2 separate regions of the Homo sapiens genome follow, and region 1 is linked to region 2. The links are contacts of gene promoters, found by promoter capture Hi-C in blood cells and fetal thymus (Javierre and others, 2016). All regions are on one chromosome and are shown on one strand. Each heading gives the region's core, a stretch centred on a gene start or on the middle of the fragment in contact. The rest is flanking DNA. Distances are from core to core; before and after follow the strand shown. Region 1 holds the start of CENPO (centromere protein O). Region 2 holds the start of SF3B6 (splicing factor 3b subunit 6).

Region 1 (6,930 bases), core at 341-2,840, 720 kb before region 2:
CCATCATGTCAGTGCTCAAAAAGCTTCAGATTTTGGAGTATTTCAGATTTTGGATCTTCAGTGCTCAACTTGTACTCACTTTCTCCATTTTCTTGCCTGTGACTCATACCTCAACCCACTTGAAACTCACTTCTGTTCCCATTATTTTACAAAACCACTCTAAGATCAACAGTGATATCCATGTTGCTGAACCCAAAGGACATTTTTCAAGCTCCCTTATCTCACCTCCCAGCACTATATGCTCCTACTGATCACCACCTTCACGAAACCCTCTTTTCCTCTGAATCTTAGCATAGCGGCCTGTTGGTATGCCTTGTTCAACAGATGTTTATTAAGCATCTATTTTGTGCCAAGTACTATTTCAGGCACTGGGAACATAGTGATGAACAACAGACAACCTGTTTTTGTGACACTTACATTTTACCTCTCTGACCCCACTTTCTGCTTTGAAGGCTCCTACTCTCCTCCTTGACCATTAAATGCTGAAATTTTCCAGAGCTCAGTCCTAAGACCTCTTCTTTCCAGAAGAAATCTCATCAGTACCCACAGCCTTAATGGCCATACATGTCGATGCCACACAAATATGTATCTCTAGCTTATACCTCTCTCCTGCTTCTTGAGAAAGCAGAATATCCACCTGCCTTCTCAGTGTATCTACTTGGAAGACTTACAGGAACCTGACAATCAACATGTCCAAGACTGAATTCATCATCTCCCCTTCTAAACCCCTCCATGACTGGAACCATTATCCATCTATAGCTGTGTAAACCAGTACTTTCTTCCTCACACCTTCTCCCTGACCCAGTCCCAATCCATTACCAGATCCTATTGAATATACATTCCTAGTATCTCTAAAATATTTCCATTTTCCCCATCTGCAATGCCACCATTGTAGTTCAAGCTACTACCATTTCTGGCCTATTACAAGTTTCCTAGGTGGCCCATACACTGAAGCCATATTTCAAAATCTAAACTGGATCGTGTCATCCAGCTGGCTAAAGCCTTTCGATGACTTCACACTGCCTACGAGGCCTACTGGCCTCTGGATCTCTCTTACCCTCATCAGTATCATGCTGCTCCTTCTCTAGGCATTTCCACACAGGCCTCCTCTCAGGCTCTCAAACCCGCCCAGCGTCTTTACTGACCTGATCCCCCCACCCCCAACACACACACCAAAGGCTCTTCCACAGCCGCCCCTTATCCACCTTCACCTGCAGCTACTCTAGCTCGTTAGCACTCAATGCAAGCAGCATTTCCTCAGGGAAACCTTTGTAGCACCTTCAGAACAAGGTCAGGTGCCAGCTCATAAGCTCTCAAAGATCCTTCTGAGACAATACTATAGTTTTTTTGTTTTTGTTTTTTAAATAAAGAGATGGGGTCTCACTATGTTTCCCAGGCTGGTCTCAAACTCCTAAGCTCAAGCGATCCTCCCACCTCGGCTTCCCAAAGTGCTAGGATTACAGGCGTGAGCCACCGCACCCGGCCACTATAGTTTTAATTGTATATTCATTAGTGTGATTATTTGATTTGCTTATCTTTTCCACTGAACCTTAAAGTTCCAAAATCAGGGACCGTGTGCATTTGTGTTCACCCATGGATCCCTTAACCCTAGCACAAAGTGTTTACACATGGTAAACACTCCGGAAATGGTTATTTTTTTCTGAGACGAAATCTCACTCTGTTGCCCAAGCTGGAGTGCAGTGGCGCGATCTCAGCTCACTGCAACCTCTACCTCCCAGGTTCAAGCAATTCTCCTGCTTCAGCCTCCCAATTAGCTGGGACTACAGGCATGCACCACGATGCCCGGCTAATTTTTGTATTTTTAGTAGAGATGGGGTTTCACTATGTTAGCCAGACTGGTCTTGAACTCCTGACCTTGTGATCCACCCGCTTTGGCCTCCCAAAGTGCTGGGATTACAGGTGTGAGCCACCGCGCCCGGCCAACACTCCGGAAATGTTTACCGAAACACGGACAACCAGGCATGACACTCTTGGAGATTACATTCACTTGGCTCATGTCCACAGAAAAACCCACATTACCGCAATAATAATCGTGAGAAACCAAAATTCTAATTAAATAAATTAGTCCTAATAATTAGCACGTGATTAACTGCTTTATTCACCAATCTCTATTTATCCAACAACTATGCATTGAGAATTTACTATGGACCAAGGACCGTGCTGGAAGTTATTCATACTGTGGTGGCAAAACGAAGTCCCTGTCCTCACGGAGCTTACAAAAATTAATGTCCAACCAGGAGGTGATCTGAAAAGCACGCACACATAGAATAATTTAGGGTGGTAGAGGAGACGCCTCACCAAATTCTACTTTATGGAAATTCTATATTACTAAAACAGTAGATATCAATATTCCCAAAGTTTCTGAGATAAGTAGGTGTTCAAAACAGTATCATGCTGCTCCTTCTCTAGGCACTTCCACACAGCCCTCTTCTCAGGCTCTCAAACCTGCCCAGCTTCTTTACCGACCTGATTCCCTCTACACCAAGGGGGTAGCGTTGTTGTTTAGCGTTGCTACTACAGAAAAGAGGGAGTGTATCTGCTGGGCCTGCTTTACCTTGGAAGTTATGATTGCATCTCATCCTAGCCAGTCAGCTTTGTCCCAAAAAAAGTCAAAATCCCTGCCTATTTGAATAAATCATCTGGTTGCAACTACAACTCCATGTCCTTCCTTCTCAAATGAGTGGGGAGAATTCAAATAATAAGCAAAAAACTGAAATCAAACAAGCAGAGGGATAAAACCAGTATGGGTAACAGCTAAGTGTTTAAATATTGTTTTGGGTAGAGAATAAGGAGACTGGTCTAAGTCTCTTGATAATCCAAAACTTCCACCTCATCACTTACTTTAACAGAAATGAAATAAGGCCTGGACTAGAGAACAGGTTACTCCTGAGTGTAGCATGTTTCCACTACATAAAGTCACCAAACTTATTTTTAGTCTTAAAGTAACAATAAATCTTACCCCATATACTTTTATTATCTAAAGTCTCAGCTTAAGTCATCTTAGGCTGAATATAGTTACTTCTCTGTTATCAATGATAATGATGACCCAGAGAAAAATAGGATAACCAAATTCACTGACGCGCTCAGAAATTCTTTTTAAAACTGTAATTTAAGTTAGGTTTTATGGCAAGCTTTCCCAAAGTACTAACGTAGAACCCTTTGGATTTAGGCATCAGGCTTGAGTAAGTATTTCAAAGTTCTAAAAAGTATTAGTAGCAAAGAACATAAAGTCACACAAAACCAGAACTGTCCACAAATATTACTAGGCACTAAAGAAGAAAGCAACTTACTCCTGGACAGAAATTCAAACGCAAATCTCAGTTTCCAAAGGATTGACTAAGGACTAAGTAAAAGTAATAGTTTCGTAATTCTAAGCAACTCTAACAAGCATTCTTTAAACACCTTCTACATTTTAAGACACAAAGTATGTAAAGAATTAAGCCTTTCATTGAATATTTCCTATATATTAGACATGTGCTAAATGCTTCACTTGAAAAGTCTGAGTTCAATACTTTTCCACCACAAAAGAAATACTTTTTCCACAACCACAACTACAGTGCTATTTTCACCTCCATTTTCCAGATGAAGAAACAGAGGCAGAGAATAAAGTGACTTGCCTAAGGTCACAATATTTATCATGGCAGAGCCAACACTCAAAACCAGTTCTAGCCAACACTAAAGTCACTGCCCTACACTGGCCCTCCCTCAAGAGTAATGCATACATGGCCCAAAAAATCCGGGGAGAGGAAAGGGACCTCCCTGGCTAGAACCGCAGTTCAGAATATAAACACTGAGCATATGATGGATGCAACTTATCCGTTTCAAAAGGGGTGGGAGCCTAGAAACGAAGCCATTTTTCCTCCTCGAATAATCTTGGCTGCCTGTCCCTTTGTCTTCAATGTTAGTTCCTTTCACTATTCTGCTCCCAAACAGGCCAGGTCCCACGTCAGTTCCAGGAGGAAAGGGCTCTCTCAGCCTGCGGGTCATCTTTGGGCAGCAGCAGGAAGGAGGCGGCGACCCTCTGAATACCTCCTTTGGACTCGCCATCTGGACGTAAAGGGTTCGCCTGCTCCATCTCAGATTCCCAAGGGCCTTCCCATGAAGTTGTCTAGGCAACCGGTGATAGGGACTCCAATGTCCTTGCTAATAAAAGAAAAATGGCAACAGTCACATCACATCTAGTCCCATTCAAACCCAGACGGCAGGGCACACACCACTCAGGCACAACCCCTGGGCCGCGGATGACACAAATGTCACGGCTAGGATCCCCTTTCCTGAGCCGCCCGCCCTCTCCCATCGTCCGAGCCAGCAGAGTCCATGCCCACCCCCGCGCCCATCCCGCGGCCCCGGCGCGCTCCCGAGGCCACGGCTACTCTGGTCCAGCGGGCTTCCCGGCCACGGAAGGAGTTTTAAGAAGGCCGTTCAGCCCGCCACCCTGGCCACGGTCCGGTCCGACAATGGGTCTTTCCCCTACCTTCTCCCTTCTAGCTCACCCAGGCCAGAAGCGAGAATTCCCGCCATCCACGTCTTCAAAACCAAACCAACCGGTCCCGGCGTGCTTTGCGATCCTGCCGTACAAAAGCATGGCGGCGCTCAGGGCCCCGCCCTGATCCCAAGATGCACCGGGGAGTAGGTCCGGCCTTTCGGGTGGTCAGGAAGATGGCGGCCTCTGGGGCGGAGCCGCAGGTCCTGGTACAATACTTGGTGTTACGAAAGGATCTATCACAAGCTCCGTTCTCCTGGCCGGCGGGCGCACTGGTAGCGCAGGCTTGTCACGCGGCCACCGCGGCCTTGCACACTCACCGCGACCACCCGCACACAGCCGCTTACCTCCAAGAGCTGGGGCGCATGCGCAAAGTGGTCCTCGAGGTGAGGCACTCGGGCGGAGGGGGAGGTGCTGAGACATCGAGGGCGGAAGTGGGTGTGGTCTTCGGTCCGAAGGCCTGGCTGCGGGGAGTGGGTGCGGCGGGAGTTGGGGTGATCGTTAACATTTAGACTGGAGCTGTTTCCCTGGAGGTGCGCCCTTGGGAAGGGCCTGACTGTGTGAAGAGTGGACAGCAGTCCTCCGCCCCCTGCTGGGCTCGCGGTAAAGTGGTGGCTCCTGTGTCCCCGCTGTTCCGCCTGTGCACTGGCCGACTTTTTAAAGCCATGCCCCAAAGTGCTGTCCTCCTGCAAAACCGAGCCCGAAGGGACAGTGCAAAGTGAAGTCAAACTGAGTATTTACCTGGGTAGGACGCCAAATTATTTGAAAATAAATACTAAAAACGTTAGTATAAATTGAACCTAGCTTCAGCTAGACCAGGCACCAGGTGTGTAAATCGGTACACCTTTTAAAATAGCAGTCAGGTTCTGTTTGCAGATGACCAAACAAATCTCACCCTTACCCTTTGACTCTCTATCCTGCTGCTAGAGATGTAGCCTAAGAAAATAATCAGATGCACCCAAAGAGCTTTGCACAAGGATATTCATGGGAGCCCTTATGGTTTTGAAGCATATTTAGTGGTCGGGAAGAGTGCTCATGATGCGAAGCTAACTGAACTATATATACAGAATGATCCAGACTTTGAAAGGAAAAACTAAAGAAATACATCTACATATTAAGTAGTGCATGGTGAGATTTTGGTTATTTCCTAATGCTTAATCTGTATTTTTAAAATTTTCTACCTTAAGCACATATTTTATAATAAGGAAAAACGGCTTTAATAATAAACGGCTTTTTATAATAAGGAAAAACGGCTTTAAGCCAGAACTCAGGTGGAGGGGTGGAGTAATCCCTTCATGGGTAACTGACAAAGATAGATTATCTTTCAAGAGAAAAATTGCTGCTGGATAGTGAAACATCAAGCGGTAACCTGTAGGAAAAATGCCTTGAGAATCTGTGTAGGCAGAACAGAAGCTGCTGGCTTTTCACTTAGATTTTCTTCCTAGTAAGAGGTCTCAAGAAATCAGGTTAGACTCCTCTTGTCGCAGGTGAAACTCTCTGAAGCCTACAGGGATTAAGTGACTCCCCTGAGTTTAAAAGAGGGTCTCATGATTCTTAGTTGTTAGTCATGACTCAAGAAAGGGACTTAGGAGTCGCTACTGATTACATTGAGGTGCCGCTGTAGTCAGAAGGGCCAATAAAATATAAGAAAATACCAGGATTAACTACATTTATTGAGTGCTTAGTGTGTGCCAGGCACAGGTCCAAGCCTGATTTCATTGATCCCCATTAGGAAGCATTATTCCTGTTTTATAAAGGGACGAAGAGGCCAGCGAAGTCACCTAACTTATCCACGATCACACAGTCAGCAAGAGTTTGGAGTCCAGTAGTCTGATTCCAGAGCCTCACTGTATCTCACTATGCTCTGCTGCTGCCCGAGGCTGAAGAAGCTGATGAGTCCTCCAGCAGAGCTCTGCCAGAAGGACTCAGCAGGTTAAGAGTCGCAATACTGGCATTCTCTAATTTATTAAAACAAGCCTCTGAGTAGCTTAGTGGCTTCTGCCTTCATAGGTAAGAGATAAACTTTATGCAAAATAACACAAAAATAATAATTTTCTGAGTGATCGTTTTAATACTTCCTGGAATGGGATTCAGCATGGGTGAATTGGCAGTAAGGATGACCCAGAAACAATTTCAGAAGGATGTTAGAGAATATTGTACTCTCCCTTTAATAAACAAGTGGGAGCCATCCCAGCAGAAGGAAAACCCCTCTAGGTTTCAGTGAGGTAGAGTGGGAGGGGTGGAGGAAAGTGGAAGTGGATGTGCTTTTAGAAATCCTTCCACTAGGGGCCGGGCATGGTGGCTCACTCCTGTAATCCTAGCACTTTGGGAGGCTTAGGTGGGTGGATTGCTTGAGGTCAGGAGCTCCAGACCAGCCTGGGCAACATGGTGAAACCCCGTCTCTACTAAAAATACAAAAATTAGCC
Region 2 (6,750 bases), core at 93-2,592:
TCTACCCAGTGACCGAAATCCAGGAGGCCCATAAGTACATGGAGGCCAACAAGAACATAGGCAAGATCGTCCTGGAACTGCCCCAGTGAAGGAGGATGGGGCAGGACAGGACGCGGCCACCCCAGGCCTTTCCAGAGCAAACCTGGAGAAGATTCACAATAGACAGGCCAAGAAACCCGGTGCTTCCTCCAGAGCCGTTTAAAGCTGATATGAGGAAATAAAGAGTGAACTGGAAGGGTGGCACGCGGACTGGGGCCGCCGCGGCGGGGTTGAGGTGGGAGTCCGGACGGGCGTCGCAGCGGGGATTACTGAGGCCCGATCAGCTGACGCTCAACCTGAGGGCCCCTCCAGGGACGGAGATTCTGGGTATAGTTACAGCGTCAGCCGTGACACAAGCCGCCAGAACCCCACATATTCCGCCTTGCGCACAGCTAGAGGCCCAGGCCCACCACCTCCGGCACCTGCCCGCGCGCCCCGCAACCAGTGGGCACCACAGCAGGCCCCAGCCCTGCCCGCTACTCACCTGGGCCCCACCCCACCTCTCGCCGCCCTCCTCAGGCCCCACCACCTCCCGCTACACATCTGAGCCCCGCCCCACCTCCACCACTTTCCTCAGCCCCAACCACCTCCTGCTACACTTCTGGGCCCCGCCGCACCTCCACCACCCTCCTCAGGCCCCGATCCCTTCCGCTACTCACCTGGGTCCCGCCCCAGCTCAGTCCTCCTCAGGCCCCGCCTTCGCCCGCTACTCACCTGGGCCCCACCCCACCTCTCGCCACCCTCCTCAGGCCCCACCACCTCCCGCTACACATCTGGGCCCCGCCCCACCGCCACCACCCTCCTCAGGCCCCGCCCCTTCCATTACTCACTTGGGTCCCGCCCCAGCTCACCGCCTTGCTCAGGCCCGGCTCCCTCCCGGATACTCACTTGGGCCCCACCCCAGCTCTCCGCACCCTCCTCAGGCCCCGCCCCCTCCCGCTACTCACCTGGGTCCCGCCCTACCTGTCATAACCCTGCTCAAGCCCCGCCTCCTCCGCTCCCCAGTTACTCACCTGAGACCCGCCCCAGCTCTCCGCCCTCCTCAGGCCCCGCCCTCTCCACCCGGGTTCCTCTGCTCAGGGCCTCCCCGACCGGAACATCTCGCCTTTTGGAGGCTACGCCCCGCCCTTTACGGTACAGAGCCCGGAAGTGTCTTGGACTCTCGCCTTTCCATCTTCCGGCCTCGAGTCTCGCTCAGGCTCGGTTTTACCCCGGAGTCTATTCGAAGGGGGCTGCTACGTCAGCGCGTCTCAGCGTAAGACGGCGCTATTCCGCTGTAACAGCTTCCGGCGGGTCCTGGATGTTGATGTCCTGCATCTAACGCGGTGTAACCCCCGAAGCCGAGCGAGCTCCGGAGGAATTTCAGTATCTGCTACGGTAACTTCATCAGCCCGCCAAGATGGCGATGCAAGCGGCCAAGAGGGCGAACGTGAGTATCGGGTGTTCTGCGGAGGGTGGGAGAACTTCGGGTTTGACTTTCTTAGCGGCGTGGATCGGAGCATTCTTGCTCCTCCTCCGTCCCCAGAGCGGAGAACTCCAGAATTCCTATCCTGTCAGCGAAGACACTATCCGGCCCCATCCTCAGAGATATGCTCCTTGAGCCACATTTCTGTCCCCACCCCTTTTGAGAGTTCCTCAGTCTCTACCCTAGTGTCAGTGATAGTGTTACCCCTATAGCCTCTTTGCTTGACCCGCACCTAAGGACCTGGCGTTAGGATTATCTCCTTGACTTAAAGTCGATATCTCAGAAGAGTCCTCAACTAACTTAATGGTTCACCAACAACTAGGACCTGGGATTCCCCTCAGATCATGGTGCTTTTCGGATCCTTCATTAACACATTAATTAAAACAATATTTTTTGAGCACCTACTATGTATTCTGCTTGCCATGTGGGACATAATTCATCAATTATATTTATTGAATAGCTACTATGTGCCAGACACTAGTCTTACGTATTGGGAATACAGCAGTGAATAAAACAAGTCCTTCTGCTTACATTCTAGTGTTTGAGAGTACAGTGTTACGGAAACTTTTAAAAAAAAAAAACTCAAAAAAGAGATTAGTCAACAGTAAAACGCTTAGAGGTGTAAGATGAAGTTAGGCCGAGTGAGGTGGCTCATGCCTGTAATCCCCGCACTTTTGGAGGCTGAGGTGGGAGGATTGCTTGAGCCCAGGAATTCAAGGCTGCCTTGAGCCATGATTGTGCCACTGCGCAGCACTTCAGCCCAGGAGACAGAGCAAGACCCTGACTCAAAAAAAAAAAAAAAAACAGAAAGAAAGAAAGAAAGAAAGAAAAGACAAGCAATTGACCATTGTATATGTAAATGGAGACTTTTGGTGACCTTGATGATAGGAATCATTTCAGTGGATGAAAACTTGATTGCAGTGGGGTGAAAAGATGGTGGAAGTTGAGAAAATGGAAACAGCAAAGACACTCTGTCCATGAGTTCTCATTTAAATAGGAAGTAGGGAAATTGGATGATAGTTGACTTTTTTTTTTGAGATGGACTCTCACTCTGTCACCCAGGCTGGAGTGCAGTGGCACAGTCTTGGCTCACTGCAACCTCTGTCTCCTGAGTTCAAGCAATTCTCCTGCCTCAGCCTCTTGAGTAGCTGGGATTACAGGTGCCCACCACCATGCCCGGCTAATTTTTGTATTTTTAGTAGAGACAGGGTTTCTCCGTGTTGGCCAGGCTGGTCTCAAACTCCTGACCTCAAGTGATCCACCTGCCTTGGCCTCCCAAAACGCTGGGATTACAGGCATGAGCCACCGCACCCGGCCAGATAGTTGACTTTTTAAAAGATGTGTGATATAGGTGTATCTTTATGCCAATGGGAGCAATCCAGCAGAGTGTGCGAAACATGATATGGAAGAAAGATAGGTTGAGTTTAGAAGTGAAGGTTTTGAGTAGATGAAGGTTGGCGTAGTAATAGAGGGAAAGTAGTTGGATATAGATGAAAAGTATTTCAATTGGTCATGTCTATTTTCTCCAAGAAACAAGAATCAGGGTCATCTCCTGGGATGGGCAGGGAAGAGGGTACAGCCCAACTCAGGTGTTAGCAGGAGTGATGGTGGTAAGGTTTGCAAAGGCCTACACCCACCACCATGCCTGGCTAATTTTTTAAAATTTTTGTAGAGATGGGGGTCTCACTATGTTGTCCAGGCTGGTCTCAAACTCCTGGGCTCAAGTGATCCTCCCACTTTGCCTCCCAAAGTGCTGGGATTATAGGGACCAGCCACTGCACCCAGCCTCTGTTGCTTTTTCAAAGATCTGCCCATTTTCAGAAACATCAAATTATACCTCTTATTCTTGGCTTTTTATTATTACGTATCATTAAGAATTTTTTAAAATGCCCCTAATTATAGGGGCATTTAAATTATAATTTTTTAGAATGCCCCTAATTATAATAACAATACGTATTTCTCATTTTAGATTCGACTTCCACCTGAAGTAAATCGGATATTGTATATAAGAAATTTGCCATACAAAATCACAGCTGAAGAAATGTATGATATATTTGGGAAATATGGACCTATTCGTCAAATCAGAGTGTGAGTCTTACTGAGTCATTTAAAGAAAATGATAGCATAATCTGTAATTTCAGAATTATAGCTGACGATGAGGCCACCCTGTGCTGTGTGCAGTGCGACAACCCTTACCAAGAGCCTTGAGACTAGCAGATTGAGATCAGAGAGATGAGATCTTTTTGAAGGGGGGAGAAAACCTACTGAGACCCTAATGATCCAGCTCAATGAGAGCCAAGAAGAGGATTTGAGTTTCCTCAAAGCATTCATTGAAGTAGTAATGAATGCTTTGAGGAAACTGGTTGAGAAGGGAAAGAACTAACATTTATTGCATACCTGTTATTTGTAAAGCTAGCTTGTTACACTGTGTTTTTTGTATGCAGCAGCTCTATAATTTTCTCAACAATCATCACTGTCTCTTTAAATAACCCCAGAATTTCTGAATAAACTAAGTAAAAGAGTATAAAAGTAACAGAAAAAAATGATATTTTCAACTACAGCTCTTTCAATTGAAGATGTAAAAGTATAGAGGAAAACATCTAATTACAAGCATTCACGTTTTAATTTAATATAAAGATTGGGGTTCATACCTTCAAGTGATATTTACTGGACATCTACTGAATACCATTAACCATAATAAGTGCTTTTATTTGGATCAACAAAACTATAGCCCTGAGAGTAAAGTACCTTTCTATCTTACAGTGCTTAGTGGTAAAATCTTCTGACTCTAAATTGAACCTCTACATTACACAGTACCATAGCCTCTGACACCCGAACTCATATGAAAGGGCTAGTGACTTAAGAGTCCATCTGAAAGGATTTCTAAAGTTTTTATTTTAAAAAAATTATTATTTTACCACAGTAATGACTACGTATAAAGTTTTTATTTCTAGTCGGAATTCCGTCTTGTATGACTTGAGAGCTCCTTCCTGGCTTTAGGACTATGAGGTCTTGAGGACCCTCCTTTTGAATGACACTGTCCCTCCAGAGAGTAAACCAAGAGCTGGAAATACATGATCATTGGTACTCAGATGGGGATGAAAGTGAAAGTGTTATAGACCAGCTGTCCTTTTTAGGAGGTCTCAGTCCTTTGAGCATCTGATAAAAGCTTTAGACTCCTTCCACAGAAGAATACACTCATGTTGCATATATTTCAGGGGATACATGGACTCTAGGTCAAGAAACCCTGCTCTAGATACAGAATGGTATACAAGGCCAGGAGTTCAAGACCTGCCTGGCCAACATGGCGAATCCCTGCCTTGGGGATCAGGAGACAAGATTCTACTTCAGGCCTTGTTACTAGCCATGTGTGTGACTAGTTGCCTAGCTTTTTTGGTTTTCTCTTCATGTATGAGATAATCTGGGTGGTGGCCTTTTAGCTTTTAATGTGGAAACAGCATAGATTGGTTGTAAGGCCTGGGTTCAAATACTGGCTTGCCTACTCTTACGAAACTGGAGAAAATATTTAACCTTATCTGGGTTTCAATTATCTATGAAATACAGTCTTCCTAACCTACTGTCTTAAAAGAATTTTAATTTGGATGAAATTACACAGTGTCTGTGAAGGTACTTTATCAGTTTTCCTTCCCAGTGTACATTAGCCACTCTTCTGCTCCCATAGCATTTCCATGTGTCTCTCCTAGGTTAACACATGGTTTTGCTGTTGTCTCTATATTCATCTGTCACCCTGGGCAGGTTGTGAGTTCCTCCAGGGCTCGTACCATATATTATTTTTGTTTTTGTGTTGATAGCACTTGTGCGATACATGGTAAGCACCCGATGTATACTAAATGAATAATATAGAAAATAGTAGAATAGGCCAGATGTGGTGGCTCACACCTGTAATCCCGGCACTTTGGGAGGCCGAGACAGGCAGATCACCAGAGGTTAGGAGTTCGAGACCACCCTGGCCAAATGGTGAAACCCCCTCTCTAAAAAAAAATACAAAAATTAGCTGGGCATGGTGGCACGCGCCTGTAATGCAATTACTCAGGAGGCTCAAGTGGGAGAATCGCTTGAACCTGGGAGGCTGAGGCTGCAGTGAGTGAGCCGAGATCATGCCACTGCACTCCAGTCTGGGCGACAGAGTGAGATCCTGTTTCAACAAAAGAAAAGAAAATAGAAGAATAATATAAAAAGTGGTTGTGATTGGTTTACTAGGGCATTATAAAATTTATTGATAGTACTCAATTAAGGGATGCTTAAAATCAGTGAAGTTAGAGAATGTTTCAGAAAGCCAAAATGAAAGGACAGGGAATAAAGCAGGGGCATCTTCAGAAGAGTGCAGAGCAGCTCAGAACCTTTGTGCTTCTATTTTCCTTGTATCTGGAATGGTTTTCACCAGCTCATCTCATGCCTGGCTCCTCCTCATTCTTCAGGTCTCAGCTTCAGTGTCACCTTTTCAGAGGGGTTTTCCCTGACCACCCTAGCTGAAGTAGCTCCCTGTTTCCCTATCTGTTACAGCTTTCTACTTCTTGTATGAAACATTTCTTTTTTTAAGATGGAGTTTCGCTCTTGTTGCCCAGGCTGGAGTGCAATGGCACGATCTCGGCTCACTGCAAACTCCGCCTCCCAGGTTCAAGTGGTTCTCCAGCCTCAGCCTCCTGAGTTGCTGAGATTACAGGCACCCACCAGCATGCCTGGCTAATTTTTGTATTTTTAGTAGAGATGGGGTTTCACCACGTTGGCCAGGCTGGTCTTGAACTCCTGACCTCAGGTGATCCTCCCACCTCGGCTTCCCAAAGTGCTGGGATTACAAGCATGAGCCACCGTGCCAAGCCGAAACATTTCTTAAGATTTATAATTATTTCAGGGCTGGGCGCAGTGGCTCACGCCTGTAATGCCAGCACTTTGGAAGGCTGAAGTGGGCAGATCACAAGGTCAGGAGTTTGAGAACAGCCTGACCAACATGGTGAAACCTCGTCTCTACTAAAAATACAAAACTTAGCCAGGCGTGGTGGTGCATGCCTATAATCCCAGCTACTCAGGAGGCTGAGGCAGGAGAGCCGCTTGAACCCGGGAGGTGGAGGTTGCAGTGAGCCAAGATCATGCCACTGTACTCCAGCCTGGGCGACAGAGTGCGACTCCGTCTCAAAAAGAAAAAAAAAAGATTTATAATGATTTCATATTTATTTAATGTCTTTCTACTGCCTGAATATAAGCTTGAAGGAAGGGATGATGCTTAT

The links. The method cuts DNA at HindIII sites, captures the fragments that hold promoters and counts their contacts. A CHiCAGO score of 5 or more calls a contact.
Region 1: a fragment that was not itself captured here is called in contact with the fragment with the promoter of SF3B6 in region 2 in 4 of 17 cell types (neutrophils, naive CD4 T cells, non-activated CD4 T cells and 1 more); the score reaches 10.3 in neutrophils.

Annotation. Positions count from the first base shown.
Region 1 is chr2:24,791,086-24,798,015 of GRCh38, reverse strand. CENPO (centromere protein O) reads right to left here and starts at 4,591. Exons shown (of 8, transcript NM_001322101.2): 1 at 4,515-4,591; 2 at 4,051-4,164. The coding sequence starts at 4,096. It overlaps PTRHD1 (peptidyl-tRNA hydrolase domain containing 1), which reads left to right and starts at 4,625. Exons shown (of 2, transcript NM_001013663.2): 1 at 4,625-4,890. The coding sequence starts at 4,639. LOC105369164 (a long non-coding RNA gene) reads left to right here and starts at 4,941. Exons shown (of 3, transcript XR_939843.4): 1 at 4,941-5,249; 2 at 5,432-5,632; 3 at 6,237-6,930. RefSeq lists an enhancer at 4,535-4,964 and a silencer at 6,726-6,805. The HindIII fragment of the contact is 3,129 bases long and covers 26-3,154 here.
Region 2 is chr2:24,070,918-24,077,667 of GRCh38, reverse strand. It overlaps SF3B6 (splicing factor 3b subunit 6), which reads left to right and starts at 1,342. Exons shown (of 4, transcript NM_016047.4): 1 at 1,342-1,468; 2 at 3,474-3,592. The coding sequence starts at 1,439. TP53I3 (tumor protein p53 inducible protein 3) reads left to right here. Exons shown (of 5, transcript NM_004881.5): 5 at 1-235. The coding sequence ends at 89. It also overlaps a transcript of FAM228B not described here. RefSeq lists a silencer at 468-1,117 and enhancers at 1,228-1,457, 992-1,523, 1,524-2,056. The HindIII fragment of the contact is 6,266 bases long and covers 1-4,675 here.